Regions from separate parts of the Homo sapiens genome. Here region 1 is linked to region 2. Evidence: promoter capture Hi-C in 16 types of primary human blood cells and fetal thymus (Javierre and others, 2016). All regions are on one chromosome and are shown on one strand. Each heading gives the region's core, a stretch centred on a gene start or on the middle of the fragment in contact. The rest is flanking DNA. Distances are from core to core; before and after follow the strand shown.

Region 1 (6,483 bases), core at 3,795-6,294, 3.2 Mb after region 2:
ATATAGTTGTTAGTGTTGAAAATATAGGTGAAAGAAGTTATAACTCAAATCACAGAGAAAATCATCTCATTTACAGACAAACCAAATCACTGAGTGCCATTTATGTGTTCCAAGGCAACAAACATAAACCAGAAGACAGGGGAAAAGGAAAACAACCATCAGACAATAGATAGAATTTATAAAAATGGCAGTTTTTTCCTATTTGTTAATTATTCATGGCTTAATGTCACTGACATTCTGCCAATAAAACTATGCCTATTTGTTAAATTATTATAATAAAAGTGAACAATTTGACTTGGGATAAAAGTGAATTGAGACGGAAAGAAAGAGGTAAAGTATGTAATCTGAAATAATAAGAAAAAATTCAGGTAAATCTGAATATAAGTTGTAACTACTTTATGGTATACTCTAATGTTCATAGAAGTCCTCCCAATTACCTATACCGTTACTGAAAAATTTCCCTGGAAACAGAACTCTTCTAGGAAATATGAGTATTCCCTCATTTTCTTGGATGGCCAAAAGATTCTTAGTCCCCAGTCACAAGGAAATAAAACGGTAACACATGAACTAGACACCTTTCTAAATGATAAAAATTCCTACTCTTGAAAAATACAATTTGAACAACCCCAATAGCCAATATATACCTTAAAATGCACATCTTTTATATTAAAACAATTTTATTGAGGCCAAATACAACTATTCTACTTTTAGGTATAATCTTTTAAACTGTGAATATATTTTCAGTGTGTAGCCACTTTCTCCCATTCATATTAAGGATGTTCATACCTGCGCGTGATGGGCAACAAATTGGAGAGTTTGTGTAGGCATTCAGAAAGGAAGTCCCACGTGTCTTCATAAAGTTGATAAAAGGAAGTTTCACTACCTGACTTCCTGGATGAAATGTTAACCTTCCATCCTGGAAATAAAGAAATTTAATTAGCATTGATTACATTACCAAAGAAGAAAATTATTTTCTTTAACCATAAAATTTACAATAGCAGAAGACTTCAATATGATTTTAAGAATCCTCCAAAGATAAAAACAAAACAAGTATAGAGGGTGTTTCCAGTATCTGGTACATAAATAGCTAGAATTCAGTGCAGCGTTACACTTGGATTCATTTAACTACAGTAAATAAAGGACTTCCTGGAATGTTCTTTTGGGGGATGATGAACTGACTAAGTATTTATTGAATACTTAACTATGTGCCAGACACTGCAAAATCTGAGGATGCAATGGTGAATAAAACAGAGTCTTAGGCCCCATGAAGCTTACAGTCTAGTGGGAGAGGCAAAAAGTATACTGGCAAATAAACTATGAATAATTACAAATTATGACGTGTGCTTTGAAAAAAATCCGAGATACAGAAGGACAAGAGAGACCTACGTTAGACAGTGTGGACAGGGAAGCCTTCTCTGGGATGTATGAGACCTAAAGAATGAACAGGATCCAGCTATTCAAAGAATTTAAAGGACATACAAAGTTTGAGATATCTGTGAGATGGAAGTGGTGATATCAATTAGGCAGCTGGGGTGGGGTGTGGTGGCTCATGCCTATAATCCCAGCACTTTGGGAGGCTGAGGTGGGAGGATAGCTTGAGCTCAGGAGGTCAAGACCAGCCTGGGCAACACAGGGAGACCCTGTTTCTACAAAAAAAAATTAGGCAGCTTGATAAGTGAGTCTGAAGATTAGGAGATGTTTGGGTTGGAGATATGCATTTTGGAGATGAACTGGGAATTGAAGAACTCACGTTGGTAAAGAGCAAGAACAGAAAAAAGAATGTTCCAGTCCTGGAGTTCTATCTATTATATGTTTTCAACATAATTATAAATAAATTCCAGTTTAGAACATGAGCCAACCCAAAATATAGAATATATCTAAATCCTTGAGATAGCTGAGATTCCCAAATAGAGATATAAAGTAGGCTGTTGGATACAGATAGGAATCTGGAGTTGAGAGAAGTCTATCTTGGCGAAATAAAACTTGGGAGTATTTAACATATTCATGGTTTTGAAAACTGTGAGATTAAATAAAACCTTTCAGGGAGAGAGAAGGAGGGGAAAGAAAAGGGTCTAGAGGAAGCTATAAGGAGTCCCAAATAAGAGGGGAAACAGCATGGGAAACTGAGAAAGAATGGCCAAGGGAGGAAGATGTGAGGAGACCGAGTGCCATGACAGCTGAGAGAAGGCAGTGTGCCAAGAAAGAGGTAACATCTGCTGTGTTGAGAATGCACCTGAAATGAGGCCAGAAAATGCACATTGGAATTGGCAGTATGGAGACAGCTGGTGACCCTGACAAGAGCACTTTCGATGCGTGGTAAAGATGAACAGCTAAACTGGAAAGGGGAAGGAATGGGAGGCAGGAAAGTGAGGCAGCAGGGGGAAAAAAGAAAAGCTCTTCTGAGAAGTTATTTTGCAAAGCAAAACAGAAAAACGGGAGGGATGTTAGAGAATGGTGTGTTAGCTGGAAGAAAATGTGGGATTAAAGTCAGTTCTTTTTTTAAGATGGGGAAAATTATGCATGTCTTATGTCAAAATAAATTACCACTTCTAGCAAGAGTAATCATTGAATGCTAAGCAAATAACTACTGATTTCCTCAATGATGAGCTAGAAAGGCGAAGACAAAAGTGCATAGTGGCCAGGCACAGTGGCTCATGCCTGTAATCCCAGCTCTTTGGGAGGCTGAGGCAGGCAGATCACCTGAGGTCAGGAGTTCAAAGCCAGTCAGGCCAACATGGTGAAACCTTGTCTCTACTAAAAATACAAAAATTAGCTAGGCGTGGTGGCAGGTGCCTGTGATCCCAGCTACTCGGGAGGCTGAGGCAAGAGAATCACTTGAATCCGGGAAGCAGAGGTTGCAGTGAGCTGAGATGGCGCCACTGCACTCCAGCATGAGTGACAGAGCAAGACTCCATCTCAAAAAAAAAAAAAAAAAAAAAAGTGCATAGCCCTCCCTCATGAGAATTTCTTTAAGCCCTTAAATTCAAATTCTCAGAAATTTATCCTCACAAATTCCAAATGTATATATGTCTTATGGTTACAATCTTTTGAACATGGGGAGATAACAATTTGTGGCCACTGCCTAGAATCTAGACAACCCAGGCTTATCTGGTTGGGGGATGGAGCAGAAGGTCACAAGGTAGAACTGTCTTAAAGGTGCTATATAATTCACATATTGGGATTTGGACTCCAAGTCCTGCAGGCTAGGTTCAAATTGGTGTAACTACCACTGCAAATGACTACTGCAGCATATCAATAACTAATGTGTCAGATTAAAATCGATGTTAGTGATTTCTTGACTCATCTCTATGACTAGTACAGGGACATTATCTGTATCAAAAGCAGGCTGGAAAGCAGGACTCTTTGAAATATAGTGGCAGAGATAACCAGAAAGGGAGGGGGCGACTGCCGTCATGTGGGAAAGTTCCCAACGATTCCATCAGTGAAAGGTGATCTATGTTAAGATTGCTGTCTGAGATATATATAAGGCAGTGAGCGGTATGCAAATATTCAGTGAATGAAATGAAATGAATCTCTAATCCAGAGATTTGTTCAATTTAAAAAAGAAGACAAATTTATGCTCAAAATTCAACAGTGTATTTTTGCAAAGCTTAATAAACTGGATTAAGCATATCAATTGCAAAATTTGGTTCCTAGGAAATATTTAAATTATGATATACATATTCTCAATATCAGAAATATCAATAATACTCTAAACGAAGACCAAAATGTTATTAGAGAAAATATTTAAAAATTTTCTAGAAGTTTTGGTTTTTGACTTCATGTAGTTTTTACACACTAACAAATCATTTAAAAACTAGGCTACTACTAGTACTGCTGATAATGGTATCAATGGGAGACGGTCAGTAGAATATTTCATTCTGAACTGAAAGGCATCTTAACACAGCTGGCTGATGAAAAAGAGAGAAAGTAAGTTTTCCATAGTATGTTAATGTGGTTTACAATGGATAGCCAGTTATAAGTGAAAACACAGTTCTGTCAAATTTAGTTGGCAGAGAAAATCTTGAAAAATGGCTTTTGTTATAACTTCTATAACTTACTAATAGCCCATTTCAATTTTCTCAAGGCCATTCCTATGGTTCAAACAAATTAAGCACTCTAAAATTGGGCATTTAAGAAATAAAAATGACCCATTAATTGGCTTTCTGCAAAAGTTACAGAAATGGTACCAACTGCCTTTAGTTGCTGCATTCTGCTCTTGTTAATTAATTCTCATGGGTCCACACATTTTTCCCCCTTGGGGTGGGTAAGTCTTTTTGTAGATACAATTTTGTGATTTTGATTGCTCCTTCTGAACCATGGCTTGTACTCGGTTCCTTATCATTATGGGCCATGCAGAATCAGAGAAGTTTAGGTTTGAATTAATCATCCTAATAAAAGAATGTAACAGCAACTTTAATTTGCCATGTCAGCATGGCAAGACTGCTTATAGTGTTCTTCCCAGATCTGTCCATCAGACTGAATGAGATTCTCACTAGACTCTCTAGTAAACACTCCTGTACCTACTCTCCCCTGCCACTCCTGAAACCTCAGCAAAACTAAAACTGATACAGGTGCAGTGGCAGGGAGTAGAGGTAGGAGTAGGAGTGGGGATGCAGAAGATGCCTCTGTCCTTTAAGACCCAGGCAGAGATGCTTCTTTTCTATTATTTATTTAATTTTAAATTTTTATTTATTTTTTTTGAGACAGAGACTCACCCTGTCACCAAGGCTGGAGTCCAGTGGCACAATCTCGGTTCACTGCAACCTCTGTATTCTAGGTTTAAGCGATTCTCCTGACTCAGCCTCCCGAGTAGCTGGGCAGGTGCCCACCACCATGCCTGGCTAATTTTTGTATTCTTAGTAGAGATGGGGTTTCACCATGTTGGCCAGGCTGGTCTCGAACTTCTGACCTCAGGTGATCTGCTCGCCGTGGCTTCCCAAAGTGCTGGTATTACAGGTGTGAACCACCGTGCCTAGCCTGTTTTCTGTTCTTTTAAAAATGGGTTTATTAAGATATAATTAACACACTAAACAACTCATCCATTTAAAGTGTACAATTCAATGGTTTTTAGTGTATTCAGAAAGCTGTGCAACCATTACCATAGTCGATTTTAGAATGTTCTCATCATCCCCAAAAGACATTCTGCACTCTTTAGCCATTACTCTCTATTTTCCTGAAGCCTAGGCAACCACTAACCTACTTTCCGGCTCTATGTTTGCTTTTTCTGGACATTTCATATGAATGGAATCATACAATATGTGGTCCTTTTTGACTAGCTTCTTTCATTTAGCATAATCTTTTTAAGTTTCATCTATATTGTAGCATATACCATATTTTTTATTGTTGAATAATATTACCAAATTTTATTTATCCATTTATCAATTGATGGGCATTTGGGTTGTTTATACTGTTTGGCCATTATGTATAATGAACATTATAATGCTATGAACATTCATGTAGAAGTTTTTGTGTAGACTTATATTTTCATTTCCCTTGAATATACACCTAGGAGTAAAACTGCTGGATTATACAGCAACTCTATGGTTAACCATTCGAGAAACTGCCAAACTGATTTCCAATGGCTGCGTGATCCTACCAGCAGGGTATGGGTTGCAATTCCTCCACATTGTTGCCATCTCTAGTTATTGTCTTTTTCATTATAACCATCCCAGTGGGTATAACTGGTGTCTCACTGTGGTTTTGATTTACATTTCCCGAATGATTAATGATGTTGAGCATCTTTTCATGTATTTATTTGTCATCTGCGTATCTTCTATGAAGAAATGTCTATTAAGATCTTTTGGCCGGGCATGGTGGTTCATGCCGGTAATCCCAGCACTTTGGGAGGCCTAGGCGGGTATATCCCAAGGTCAGGAGATCGAGACCATCCTGGCTAATACGGTGAAACCCCATCTCTACTAAAAATAAAAATTAAAAAATTATCTGGGTGTGGTGGCGGGCACCTGTAGTCCCAGCTACTCAGGAGACTGAGGCAGGAGAATGGCTTGAACCTGGGAGGCAGAAGTTGCAGTAAGCCGAGATTGCGCCACTGCACTCCGGCCTGGGTGACAGAGCGAGACTCCATTTCAAAAAAAAAAAAAAAAAAAAGATCTTTTGCCCATCTTTTAATTGCCTAATCCACAATCACAAAGACTTACACCTATGTTTTCTTGTAAGAGTTTTTTAGTTTTACATTTGATTAATCAATCAATTTACTTAAAGTTTTTTTTTGTGTGTTTGTGTATGGTGCAAGGCAGGGTCCAACTTCATTCATATTTTTTTTTTCCAGCACCATTTGTTTAAAAGATCATTCTTTCCCTATTAAATGGTCTTGGCACCCTTGTTAAAAAATCAATTTACTATAAATATGAGAGTTTATTTCTGGACTTTAGATCCTATTCCATTGATCTGTATGTCACCTATCCTTAAGCCAATAACATACTACATTGATTGGTGTAGTTAAGATATAAGCTTTAAAAT
Region 2 (6,051 bases), core at 1-2,500:
CTCGGGAGGCCTTTCCCGTTGCGCCACGCCGCCCTTCCGCCCCGGCGAGCGCCTTCGAGACCTGGGGCTATTTGGGAACAAAGCCCTAGGCCCCGGGGCTGGCTCCCCTCGCGCGCTCCCGTCCTACCTGCGTGGAGCAGCCCGAGGCTGAACAGCAGCAGCAGCAGCAGCTCCAGCGGCGGGGGGCAGAGCCCGGGGCTGCGGCGCTGCTCAACCTCGGCGGCGGCAGCGGCGGCGCTGGAAGGTGCTGCTCTCAAGCCCATGCCCGTCCATGCAGGTCTCGTGGGCTCCGGCGAGGGCGGCGGCGCGGGCGCCGTGGCGGGTCTGGGCCCGTGGCTGCGGCATGGGCCGGGGGGCGCGCTTCGCTTCCTCTTCTTCCTTCTTCAGGCCCGTGTAGCAGATGGGGCGCCACCACCGCCGCAGCAAGCAGCGCGCAGCCGGCGCAGCCAGTCCGCGGCGGCAGCAGCGGGGCGCAGGGGCATCGTGGCGGCCGGAGGCGGCAGGCAGGGAAAGGGGCGGAAGAGAAGACACAAAGACCGTGAGCGACTGCTGAGACGAGTCCCGAGCGCGCCGGCACCCCGGCCCCAGCCAGCGTGGGCTCGGCGGGCGTGGACCTCCAAGAGGCTGGCCCAGCCCTAGCGACCACCCACCGGCGGCCCGGATATCTCTGCGCGGCAGCCCCCGCGGTCGATCAATCTCAGTCCCGCACTGCCGTCCCGCCCCGCCCTGTGCCCGCCAATCCACGACGCCATAATCCCCCGCCGTGTCCCTCCCTTCCTCCCCATTGGTTGTGACCGCACGTCAGCCCGACTCAGCCTGCCAATCGCAGGACCCAGAGGGCCCTCTCCCCCGCCCGCTCAGTGTAATTCGAGTTCCCTGTCCATCGACTCCAAGTCCTCTCTCCTGCGCCGCATGCTGCCTCGCGCTCCCTTTCCTTCCCCCTCTACCCCCTTCCGCGATTTACTGTTTCCTCGCGCCCAACAGAAATGGGCGACCGCAAGTCTTACTCTCGCCGGCGTTACAAAGGTACCGGCCTTTGACCTCTCCTTGAATTAATGTGATCCGATTCATCTTCCCTCCAAGTTTTTTTTTTAATTTAATTACCCCTCCCTGCCCTGGCCCTGCCAGCTTCAGCTCCACCTCCTTGGAGGAAGCAGGCGCTTTTACAGAGCGCCGCGCGGCAGGTCCCCTTTCAGCCAATCACATCTGCGGAACCGCGTTCCGAGTCGTTTGAGGGTGTCTGGTAAAGCAAGCTCGGGGCGGTGTTGGAAATCTGAATGTCACCCGCGGTCCGGAGCAGATAGGATGGGCTGGGAAGGTACCCGCGAACTGCCGCCGGAATTCGCTGGCAGCTGTGCGAGGCTCAGGTGTTCTAGTTTGACATTTCCCTTCCTGAAAGCGGCAAGGAGAGGTCTAAGAGTGGGCAAACTTCAACGTTCGGTTACAGTGTAATTAATGAGAGTGGTGGGTTTTTATGCAGTGTAATTATGCCACGATTTGTTGTTGCTCAGTGGCTTTTTCACAAATTTCTACAGATTATTTAAATTTTCCACAAATTTCTACGGATTAATTCAATGGCAGCTCACTTTCTCCTTTTATGATCGGATGGGTCCGAAAGTGAGGAAAAAGACAATTGTCTACAAAGAAAGAGGCTGCCAAGTGGAGACAGAAAAGCAGTTATGAGACTGATGATAGATTCCAATTTGTTATCGGTAGGTGTGAAGTGGTATCTAATCTCAAGAATGACCTCAAGGCTGAGAGACACTTGATACCGCCCTCGCCTTTGCCTTTCCCCAAACAGCACAGGGTTGCCATTTAAAATCCACTAACATCCAAATCGTAGTTGGCAACTGTACCCGCTATGTTACTCAGAATCTCTAATTAGGAATTTCTTATCAACCACGGACATGCTGATATTCCACACATGTTTAAATGAGCTAATCAATGGACTAGGATAATTGAGGGGCAAACCTTCAGTCTCACCAGCTCACTTATTAGACACATTTTGAATTGCCCAAACCACTAGGTCCCTAATGAAGGATGCCTATCTGTTTTTACTGTAACTTTTCATTACTTACTTGTTACATACTATGATGACTTAAGGGGTAAACACACCTTTCACTATCCACAATATAATCCAAGCCTGTGTATATCCATAATACGCTTAATAATAGCTTCACAGTTGCCTGGAGAAATGACTTTTGGGGAGGAAGTTATATGACATTTTTAGATAATGCTGCGGACTAAGTATTATTAGAGCAAAAATTTACTATCTTGCAATTACTTCATATAATTAGATACAGTTCATGACATACTAAGAAGCATCTTAAAAAAGTAATCAAACATAATACTGATTTTCAAAGTATTTGGCTAACAAAGACTACATTTTTTTCTCTTAACCCAAGATTTAATTCGACCCCTATAAAAGCAGCATCTCACTTTATTGATCATACTTCAAAGCATATACTCAATAGTTAAGGATCAATAATTTCTGTTTGGTTTGGGTCTTTCCACTCGTGACTTTCTATGATTTTTTACTCCCCTCCCCCTATATCCTGTTCCATAAGTACACGGGTGCTCTAGATTTTCCTATCAATAGAGGGCGTCCTCGAGTCATTGCAAATCCTGGTGTCGTTAAACGGAACTGTTCTTCAGAGGAAAAACTTCATCTCTATAAGGTGCTTTATTGCTCCTCTGTTGTAAAATTTGACAAGCTCGAGATTTATAAGCCTAACAATTCACTTTTTATTGCTGCATAAGTGTTCAGCCGCTAGAGGAAAATGCTAATTTTCACAAGTAAACCGCAAGGTGGTTCCTATTTTCAAGACATAGGTCAGTTGACACACTCGCGGGTAAATTCGTACTGTTCACAAGATCAGGAATTGGCTTGGAAAGCAAGAGCGTAGTGAATAGTCGCTTATACCGCAGCCACTCCTCAAGCCCGTGAGCTGCAAGTTACAAACGACTTTATATTGTACAAAGAAAAATCGGGGAGGGAGCTAGAACACAAACAAAAAAATCGGTGACTTATAAAAGTTTTATGTTTTAATCAGAAAAAAAATCATGAAGTGGCTGATGACTTGTGTAATTCACACATCCACCCTGTTTCTTGCCACTGGTACTCTTTCTCCCTTTCTCTTTGTTTTCAGAAAGGAAGGAGGAGACCTGAACAGTACATCCGGAGAATCCAGCAAAGCATACTACGGCATGAACGTGCAAGTGGACAGAATTAAAACACATGCCAGAAACACTAATGGATTCTAAACAAGATGCAGTTTCATTTCCTGAGCCTATACGTGATGTTTTTAACTGTTCTCCAGTTAATATGTCTCCATTTCCAGAAATCTAACAGGAGAATCTCTGACTGCTTAACAGATCACCTAAGCTTGCGATTTGTGCAATCCTTTCTAGAGTAAGGGCTCCCCGGCTGCTCCCCGGCCACTGTGTACCCAAAGCAGCGGCTGAAATAGCCCGGAGTCCAACAGCTCAGCGTCAAGCAGCTCGTGGTTTGTACTTACATCATTTTTTTTTTCAGAGCAAGAGTGAAAGTTTATTAAAAAGCGTTAGAACAGTAAGGAAAGGAAAGGAGAGAAAATAAGGAAAGTACAACTTGGAAGAGGGCCAAGCGGGCGACTTGAGAAATCAAGTGCCTGTACTTACATCATTCTTAACCCTTTCGCTCCTGGAGGGGGCTCAGCGGGATCAGGGGGCCCCTGAACTTCGGAACACGCAGGACCTGGGTGTGAGAGAAGAGTCCCAAAGCTTGGCGTGAGCAATGCACTCGCGGAGGGAGAGAGCCCGGGGCTTGCGGGGGGCTCATCACCCGCTCGTAGACAACGGGCCCCCGCAATCCCTGCGGGCTCCGCCGCTGCTCTCACCGCTCAAAACGGCAGGTGCAAAAAGCATTTGGGAGCCGCTTGCCAGCGCGCGGAGGTAATGCGCTTCCTGTCCATTTATCTCAGGAAACCAGTGCAGCCTTCCCTTCGAAACAAAATTAACCTCTCATTAGCCAGCCACTCGCTCCCAAGAAGGCCTTAAAAGCTTTACCAGCTCGCTAATGTATTTAGGCTTTTCTTCCAGGCAAACGCAGCCGCCGGTCTTGACTGCCATCGCCCAAGGGGTTCCTCTGGGCTCTCCCGCGAGCCAACAGCCGACCTCTCTCCAGCCTAGTCTGGGAAACTCCAGCCAACCCAGGATCCCATTTTGTAGTCCCGGGCAGACCCGAAACCCCTGAAAGAACTCCACTCCAGAAGACGCCAGAACAAGTTCCCACGAATTTCATGGGCGCCCTTCACATGAAAACCTCAGCTCCCCTATCCTCAAGGAACGGGGAAGGGCGCCGGGGAGGGACTTCGGTGGCCAGCTGTCCCTGGGTCGTGGGCGCTGTTTGCTCTGCGGAGCGCCAGCCCTGCACACAGCGGGTGCGGGAAGCGTTGATGGGAGGCTGGAGGGCGGGGTGAGCGTAAACTAGGATCTAGCCGGTTCCAGGCGTGGAGAATCAAATGTGGTCCTAGATCTGTAAGTTGCGAAAAGGGGCTTTTGGGAGCGTCAGAGCTTTCTCACTCCGGTCCCCCGCCGCCTTGAGGCTGGCAGATTTATACCCCACAGGTGGATGGAGACCTAAACAAAACAGTCCCGGCCGCTGCCTGCCGCTCGCCCCCCACGTCCCCCGGGCCCACCGCAAACTTCAACAAAATAAACAACTCACCACAGGCATTCCCTTGTCTGCAGCGCGACGCTTGCCAGCTGGGAAAATAAGCCGCAAGCCACGCGGCCGAGGCGCGGAGGGAAGGCAGCGCGGCGCCCGCCCCTCTCCCCCAGGTGGGGGGCAGCGCGACTCGGGGCGGGAGGGAGGCTCCGCCTCGGGGGCCGCTCTCCCAGTTCTCCGACTCCAGAATGAGCTCTGGGAGAGGAGCTGCGCCCTTCCAGCTAGCCCGATTTCTCCGCCATCTAGGGGAGAGGGCGGGGAGCCAAATCCCTCAGCCCCCCGCACCCCAGCAGCTTCCTCCAGGCAGCTTTCTCCCCAGTCAGCCTCAAATAGAGGTGAACAGAGACCCTCCTCTCCCCCCGGCAACCCCTATATCGCCACACTGCCCCCTGCCGGCGCTATCCGGCTCATTCCGGCACTGCGGACGGCTGGGGGCGTGGGGGCGTAGGGGCGCCGCAGACCCCCGCGTCCAGGTCCTGGATCAGTTCTCTCTTCGCCTTCCCCCCACCACACTCAATCTTGCACAAAGACGCCTTTCACGCCGCCAGCGCCACCCTCCGCGCCGCCCTCCGGGCCGGCGGCGCTGCCTTCGCCCACCCGCGGCACCAGCCGATTCCTGGTGGGCGATTGTGCCACTCGTCGCCAGGCAGGGCGGCAGCGGACGCGTGCGGGCTGTTCCCACTCCGCGCCCCGGCCAAGGCGCCAGATGCGCTGCCCCCCGCCACGTTCTCTAGCTGCCCGCCGGCAGCCGCAGAATGCACACCTTTCTCTCCGTAAATGATCCTTAAGGGTCTTCCAAGTGTTTCTAAAATGGGTACAGTGGCGGGAATGGTCCGCTGGACTTTCGCCGAAATAAGGAATCCAGCGATCTTACCTGACCACCTAAGGTGCCAGTGTGCCTTTACAGCTTAAGAAAGCCAAAGATAAAGATTTGGAAATAAAGAGGGGAGAGAGGGTTTAAAGAGACACCTAAGGCCCAGAGCAAGTGTGTTACAAAGAATGAGCCCACGAAATGTTCGAGGGAGGACGGTCGCTTCGATCAGCGTGGAAGGCGTGGAGGGCAAGAAGAAAGGGATTAACTTTCTACCTTACATTGATCTTCCAAAGTAGAAAAACAAACAAACAAAAAACATCCCAGATACTCAGCGGCAGCTAATTGGCGCGTTCAACGCCTGGAACTAGCGGGCTACTTCTCTTAGTCAAGTCAAATGCTCAAGTATCCTGACTCAGGGAGGTCACTTCTTGCCTCCTTAGGCAAGAATCTACGACCCTCTCCAGCTTTTCTTTGCCTTCTCCTCCCCTAACCCCTCCTTACAGTTTCTCCGGCTAACGCTAGAGGCAGC

Evidence for each region. The method cuts DNA at HindIII sites, captures the fragments that hold promoters and counts their contacts. A CHiCAGO score of 5 or more calls a contact.
Region 1: a fragment that was not itself captured here is called in contact with the fragment with the promoter of RGMB-AS1 in region 2 in 1 of 17 cell types (total B cells); the score reaches 7.0 in total B cells.

Annotation. Positions count from the first base shown.
Region 1 is chr5:95,560,431-95,566,913 of GRCh38, reverse strand. ARSK (arylsulfatase family member K) reads right to left here. Exons shown (of 8, transcript NM_198150.3): 2 at 787-916. Among named protein-coding and RNA genes, the nearest start is that of ARSK, 8.6 kb to the right of the region's middle. The HindIII fragment of the contact is 2,864 bases long and covers 3,613-6,476 here.
Region 2 is chr5:98,768,283-98,774,333 of GRCh38, reverse strand. RGMB-AS1 (RGMB antisense RNA 1) reads left to right here and starts at 1,250. Exons shown (of 2, transcript NR_033932.1): 1 at 1,250-1,712; 2 at 3,150-4,716. It overlaps RGMB (repulsive guidance molecule BMP co-receptor b), which reads right to left and starts at 671. Exons shown (of 3, transcript NM_001366508.1): 1 at 128-671. The coding sequence starts at 263. RefSeq lists enhancers at 1-309, 1,045-1,094, 3,473-3,973, 5,685-6,051 and a silencer at 195-824. The HindIII fragment of the contact is 10,132 bases long and covers 1-3,387 here.